Linked DNA regions of Homo sapiens: region 2 is linked to region 1. Evidence: promoter capture Hi-C in human tissues and cell types (Jung and others, 2019). All regions are on one chromosome and are shown on one strand. Each heading gives the region's core, a stretch centred on a gene start or on the middle of the fragment in contact. The rest is flanking DNA. Distances are from core to core; before and after follow the strand shown. Region 1 holds the start of GAL3ST1 (galactose-3-O-sulfotransferase 1). Region 2 overlaps MORC2 (MORC family CW-type zinc finger 2).

Region 1 (3,349 bases), core at 324-2,823:
ATATCACTTCCTGCTGGACTCGGCCCAGAAGGTAAAAGCCAGAACCGGAAGGATCTGTGGGTCTGCGGTGAGGTCCTGCCCTCAGCTTGCCTTGGCGCGTTGGCAGAACCGCTGAGTACCTCCCAGCGTAGGATTCCGCAGCAGCTGCACTTACGGTCTGTGAGGCCTGCCTGACAGCTTCCCCGCTGACCTTGGCAGTGTCCCTGCTGACGCCCATTGGGATATGCCTTTGCCTGGAACCGCCAGTGCATCATGATGGAGCCAGGACCACAACCTGGGTCTCCCAGTGCTCACTCAGCCCCTCCCAGGACTCACTTCCCGGGGTGAGTGCTGTCGAGGGTTGGGGCCACGCTGAGGAAGTGTGGGTTTGGAATGGCTCTACTTTCCCTGAATCTAGGCACCTGAGGGCCTTGCCCTCTGCCTCTCACTGTTTGCTGGCTGTGTGGGCAGAGAATGTTTTTGTGGCAGTGGATGTAGGTCCAACCTGTGCAGGGGGAAGGCAAGAGCTTGGGCAGGCTCTGGCCTGGGGAGCAGAAAACCTAGGGCTCCCCCTCTCAGCTGGGACTGGCTGTGGGTGGAAGGAGAGGGCTGTGTGCCATTCCCACTCTGTCATGCACACGGCGATGGGAGGGAGTGAGGTTGCCTCCAGAGGCTGGGACAGAGGGTCAGGACCTCTGGAGCCAGAGCCTGCAGCCCCGGGAGACAACTCAGGCCTGTCTGGGGAACTGTGCATCCAGGGCCACACGGCTAGAGCGCAGGCCCATCAGATACGGAAAAATTCCTGGCAGCCATGCTGATGTGGAATTTTCCCCATTCCAGAATCGCCCAGTAATGGCGGGGGCAGTGGGGCTCTGACGCATCCCAGGCCCCACTGGGTGGCCAGCTGGTTCCTTACTGCCCACAGCTGGCGCTGAGGATTCCTGGCCCCTGGCAGGCATTGGTCCTCATCCATGGTCTTGCTCCTCTGGGGTGAAGAAGGAAAGGCCAGGCCTGGAAAATGAGACAGGGCCTGGATGGGACACCTGCCTCCTGGTGGCCTTGCTCAGCCCTCATTGGCACCCTAGAGAGTGACAGCTGAGACCTCCAGGTGACAGGACCAGTTGGAGCTCAGTCTCTTGCTTGAGCTCCCTCCACTCCCATGAGTGCCAAAAATGTGTCGTCCCCAGTTGGCACTGACTAGAGCAAGAAGCCGTATGATCCATTGGATCCTAAGGGCCCCAGGACCCCCCAACCAAAGTTAAGCAATAGTCCGTCCGCCGCCTTTTTCCCAGAGCCCTGGCTCCCCTCCCCACCACCACCAAGCCTGGGCATCCTCAAGTCTTCTGGGCTGGGGGCTCCGTTGAGCCAGAGGACCGGGGCGGGACAATGGCCCCGTTGGCGCGTCCGAGACAAACGGGCCTTGTTGGGCCGGCGGCGGGGGCGCAGCGTTGCGCCCCAGCGCGCTGAATGCGGCTTCTGTGCGTCTCGGGCGGGCGCAGAGGGGCCGGGATGGGGCGGGGAGGGGGCCGGCCCGGGGCGGGGAGGGGTCTGGGGTCCGGGGCGTCCATTGGCCCCGGCGCCGGAGGCTGGGCCAGGCTGGCGGCGGCACCTGGCCGGGAGCGGGCGCGGCGCGGGAGCGGGCGCGGCGCGGCAGCGGCGGCGGGGGCGGGGGCATGGACCAGGCCTGGTGGAGCGGGGGGCCCGGCCGGGTGCGCCCCGCCGCCCAGTGAGCGCCCGGGCGGCGCGGCCCGGGCCGAGCCAGCCACGCTGAGGCGGAGGAGGACGGGGACAAGGTACGTCCCGGGCTCCAGCACCCACTGCCAGCTTGAGCCCTGCCTCAGTCTACTCCCTGGGGATACCGCCCACATTACGCTAACCCCCAAACTGGGACCACGCGCCGGAGGAGGGGAGTAGGAGTGCAGTACCGCTGTTCTAAGCGCTGGGTACCCCTGCCCACTGCCAGAGGGTGGCCTGGTAGGGGCCAGGGAGGGCACAGGTTGGTGCCCCCCATGCCCTTGGTTTTTTCCCCTGTCCCCCAACCCCCCTTCCAGGGCTTCCCAGTCCCTGAAGGTGGGATGGGTGGGGCAGAAGGCAGGCTGCTGGGGCTGAGCTGGAGCTGGGAGTGCGTTAATGATTAATCTTGGACACAGTGGCCAGAGCCCTAGGGGAGGAGGGGCAGAGATCTCCCCTGTCTCCATCAGCCCTTCCTAGAAAGGGGATCAGAGCAGGAACCGGAGACCATAGTAAGGGATGGATCCCCTCTGCTGGGGGAAGGCCCTGGCCTGTACCCCAGAGGAAGCAAAGCCACCAAGGAGAGGTTTGGGAGAGTGGGACAAACCCTGGCATCCAGGAGGGGTCCTATAGGAAATCCTACAGTTCCTGTTTCCTAGCCCAGTGCCCAGGAAGGGGGTCCAGCTTGATCTGCCCCTTCGGTGCCAGGCCAGCATTTTGGTACCAGCACAGAGCACACTACAGACCGAGCCCTGCCCAGTGGGAACTGCCCCGCCCAGCTGCCCAGAGCCAGAGAGGTGATGGGCATGTCTGGCTGCTGTAACCCACACCAGGGGGAAGGAAAGGGAGAGAAGGCAGCATGCCTGACACCTGATCCCCGGGCTGCCGCGGTGACAGGTGCATGAGAATCCTCCAGAGGGGAGAGAGGTGTAGAGGACTGTCCATTCCAGTTGGGAAAACCCAATCTCTTCCTTTACTGACGGGGTGACCTGAGGCCCAGAGAGGGTGAGGCTCATCCAGGCCCACACAGGGGGCACAGGAGGGCAGTCCTGGACCAGAGCAGTCACTGTGTACGCACTGTTCCTTGTCCTGTGAAGGAGGCATTGCTACCTATCCCCATTATCCAGAGGGGGATACTGAGGCTCAGGGAAATTCAATGACTTGTCCAAGGTCACATGGCTCAGAGGTAGCTGAGCTGACTCCAAATCATAGGAGTCTTGCCCTGGCCCCCATTTCAGGACCCCAGCCCAACCCATGACCTCTCTCTGCTCCTTTGGGGTCCTGCCTTCTTGGATCTGCCTGGGCTGCCCCAAACCCTCAGCTCTGGACACCCCCCCTCGCCTCCCTGGCTCCCAGCTCCGCCTGACACTTCAGCGGGTGAGCAGGCTGCTACCCCGGGAGCCGAGACAACGAAGCCCTGTTCCCAGCTGCCACCTCAGCCTGCTTTATTCCCTGCTTGCTCAGGCAGAGCCCTTCCTGGAGGAAGCTCCTTGCGGACAGAGAATGCCTGGTCCCCATGCATCCCCTTCCCTTAATGGGTCCGATGCCCTCTTGTCGCCCAGCAAGGGAGGAGTGTGTCCCCCACAGCCCCTCCCACTGTGTTCTGAGGGACTGGGTGTGCCATCCAGTGAAAGAGGCA
Region 2 (3,349 bases), core at 338-2,837, 360 kb before region 1:
TCTGTAGTACCTTGTCTCTACAGGTGTGAGGCTTCTGAACAAAAGCAGAAGGTTCCCCTGGGAACATTCAGAAAGGACATGAAGACGCAGGAAGAGAAGCAGAAACAACTGACAGAGAAAATTCGCCAGCAGCAGGAGAAGCTGGAGGCCCTTCAGGTACGTGGGTCATGGTCAGTGGGCAAAGCCAGCCTGTGTCAGGGCTCTGCCTGTGACAGGAACCTTCAGTAGCTTTCCTGTTCCCTCAGGCTCAGTTTTACCCTCCACTCACCCGCGTTGTTTGCCAAAGCTTTCCAACCCCAACCTCCAGGTCCACGTGTACTATTTGCCAACAGTGTTATTTTAAGAATAACACCTTGCTTATTCTTAAGAAAAAATGCTTATATACTTCAAAGTGGTCCAATTCATTTAGAATGTATAAAACTCTAGAAAATAAAAATTCTGCCTTAGAGGTAACCATCATTAACCATACATCCTTCCAACTTGTCATGAACTCATGAATACCTACACATAACACACATATATTTTTTAATAGAAATAGGGAGATAATGCCATGTATATGTTTTATATTAATACATACACATACACATAATTGTTTTGATGACTTTCTAGAAGTGAAATTAAAGGACTTAAAAGGTCCATTGTAAAATTCTATGGCTTTTTGCAACTATTTCTAAAGTACCCTCCAGAGATGTGTTAATTTCTATTATTTACCAGCAGTATATGAGAGCATTATTTTTAAATGTTGTTGCAAATTTCATAGGCAAAGATGCATGTTTTATAATTTAATTTCCTTAATATTTCTAAGATTGCATAATTTTTCATGTGTCCACTTTTATTCCTTTTAAACTGCTTATTCACTTACATTTTTATTTTTTCTATGTTTTTTTCTAGATATGTCTGTGATATCATCTGTTTATCATATTTAGTACACAACCATTTCCCTTTTTGGCTTCTGTGTCTGTGCAGATGTGCTCTCACTAACCCATGATGTTTTATATGCCTCCCTAGCTGCTAAATCCCACCTTTCCTTTCTGGCTTCATCCAGGTTTTCCCTATCCTTCGGGCCCTTTCTACCTTTTTGGGTTCCTTTTATAGGAATTTAGTCTATTGACACTTTTTGCCAGTCTCTCAGTTGCTGGATTAATCACACAGTTTCCTGTAATTTGCTGATAGTTGAGTATTTATGTATTTTGTGTCTCCCCAATGAGAACAGGAGGTTTGTAAGAGTAGGACTATGGCTCAGGTTTTCTATTTTTTTTGTCCCTGGTTCCAGACACTATCCAAAAAGTTTGCTCAAGTATACTAAAATATGCAAACAACTTCATCATGATGTTTGCCTTGCAGAAAACCACACCCATCCGCTCCCAAGCAGACCTGAAGAAATTGCCCTTGGAAGTGACCACCAGACCTTCCACTGAGGTGAAGTCCAGGGGCCTGGGAAGGGCTTTTCCTCAGGTGTCTCATGCTAGGATCAGTGTTCTCACTCTCTGTGGGCCTTTTTTTAGGAACCTGTGCGTAGACCTCAGCGTCCTCGGTCGCCCCCTTTACCTGCTGTGATCAGGAACGCCCCCAGCAGACCCCCTTCTTTGCCAACTCCTAGACCAGCCAGCCAGCCCCGAAAGGCTCCTGTCATCAGCAGTACCCCAAAGCTCCCTGCTTTGGCAGCCCGGGAGGAGGCCAGCACATCTAGGCTGCTCCAGCCACCTGAGGCACCCCGAAAGCCTGCCAACACTCTCGTCAAGACTGCATCCCGACCTGCCCCTCTGGTGCAGCAACTGTCACCATCTTTACTGCCCAACTCCAAGAGCCCTCGGGAGGTTCCTTCTCCCAAAGTCATCAAGACTCCAGTGGTGAAGAAGACAGAGTCACCCATCAAACTCTCCCCGGTGAGACGCTTGTCCTCTTTAATACCCCAGCCCAGTGTCAGTAGTGTAGGAATGGAATTGTGCAGTGTCACAGCTGTACTGGGGGAGCCTTCGGAAGATACTGAATCTAAAGCTTTGCTGCTGCCCCTGAGGACGGGAAGCCTTGATAGCTGAACGGACTTGTTGGGGCCAGACAGCACATCGGTTGCCTGTACAGCGAGCTCTTCACTGTTGCCTCCGAGTTTTGGTCTGCCACAAACTTGAGTCACCTCCACTGGCTCTCGAAGTGTGGGCTTAGGTCAGTCATCTGGTGACAGATAGCCTGAGTGGGCTGCGGCAGTGGTCGGTGGTTCTTGGGGAGGTGACAGCTAGTTGGCCAGGTAGACTAAGGTGGGAAGGGAATTGAGAAGCTTCTCCTATGATAGCTTTGAGCAAAAATCCTTATGGCGCAGGGGCCAGTGGGTTGCCTGTGTACATTCCAAGTAATGTCAGGCAGGGATTGCAGGGAGTACAGCTCCTCTTGGAACGACTCCTTTAGGCTAGATGAAATCTTCCTGCTCCTTAGAGGCTGAACAGGGCCCCTCACATCCTCACGCTCCTCTTGCTCTAGGCTACCCCTAGTCGGAAGCGGAGTGTCGCAGTTTCTGATGAGGAAGAAGTTGAGGAGGAAGCTGAGAGGAGGAAGGAGAGGTGCAAGCGGGGCAGATTTGTTGTGAAGGAGGAAAAGAAGGACTCGAATGAGGTGAGTGGTTGAGGTGAGGTTCTCAAAGCCTCTCTCTCTAGGGCCTGCAGCCCCCACCAGCAGTCTGCACCCCCCATCAGCAGTCTATACCATCCACCAGCAGTCTACACAACCCACCAGCAGTCTACCCCCCCCACCAGCAGTCTGCACCAACTCTGTTTATATTCGTGTCATGAGCCTTCCAGAAGCCTAGTGATCTCTCAAGGACTCTCAGTTACACAAGTGACTAAACATGGTGCCAGGTAGGGTCTTGAGTGAGACTGGCTTCTGGCTTAACCACAGGCCTGAAGTCACACAGACGTACATCAGTGAGGCTTGAAACACATGTCCCTTGCCTGCTGTCTTGTTCGTAAAGGTAGCAGAAGGGTAGGTACCTTGGACAGTGATTTTGGAGTGTGGCTCTCAACGGGGCTTGGTGATTTAAACTGTAGCACAGGAAGTCGTGAAGATGATGGCTGATGACCCCGGGTGGCCAGTAAGGCACAAGTCTGCTCTTGGGGGGCACTGGGGATGCCTCTAATAGACTGCTCTCCACGCAGCTCTCAGACAGTGCTGGGGAAGAGGACTCGGCTGACCTCAAGAGAGCTCAGAAAGGTGAGCTGGGGGAGTGACTTGGCAGCCTGTGGCGGGGGTGGGAGTGGGAGTGGAAGTGGAGCCCCTTACCAGCAGCAATTTACCAAAGGCTCATTGAATCTGTCCTGGGTCTGGGCTCTTGTGCAGCAGTGGATCCAAGTCTAATCCC

What was found. Contacts are between HindIII fragments. The study calls those that stand out against the background at their distance.
Region 2: a fragment that was not itself captured here is called in contact with the fragment with the promoter of GAL3ST1 in region 1 in 2 of the 25 tissues and cell types used here (lymphoblastoid cells and spleen).

Annotation. Positions count from the first base shown.
Region 1 is chr22:30,572,889-30,576,237 of GRCh38, reverse strand. GAL3ST1 (galactose-3-O-sulfotransferase 1) reads left to right here and starts at 1,573. Exons shown (of 4, transcript NM_001318104.2): 1 at 1,573-1,772. RefSeq lists enhancers at 1,653-2,333, 2,334-3,015. The HindIII fragment of the contact is 15,540 bases long and covers 1-3,349 here.
Region 2 is chr22:30,933,318-30,936,666 of GRCh38, reverse strand. It overlaps MORC2 (MORC family CW-type zinc finger 2), which reads left to right. Exons shown (of 26, transcript NM_001303256.3): 17 at 24-156; 18 at 1,345-1,419; 19 at 1,506-1,886; 20 at 2,476-2,607; 21 at 3,147-3,201. Among named protein-coding and RNA genes, the nearest start is that of MORC2-AS1, 13 kb to the right of the region's middle. The HindIII fragment of the contact is 4,500 bases long and covers 1-3,349 here.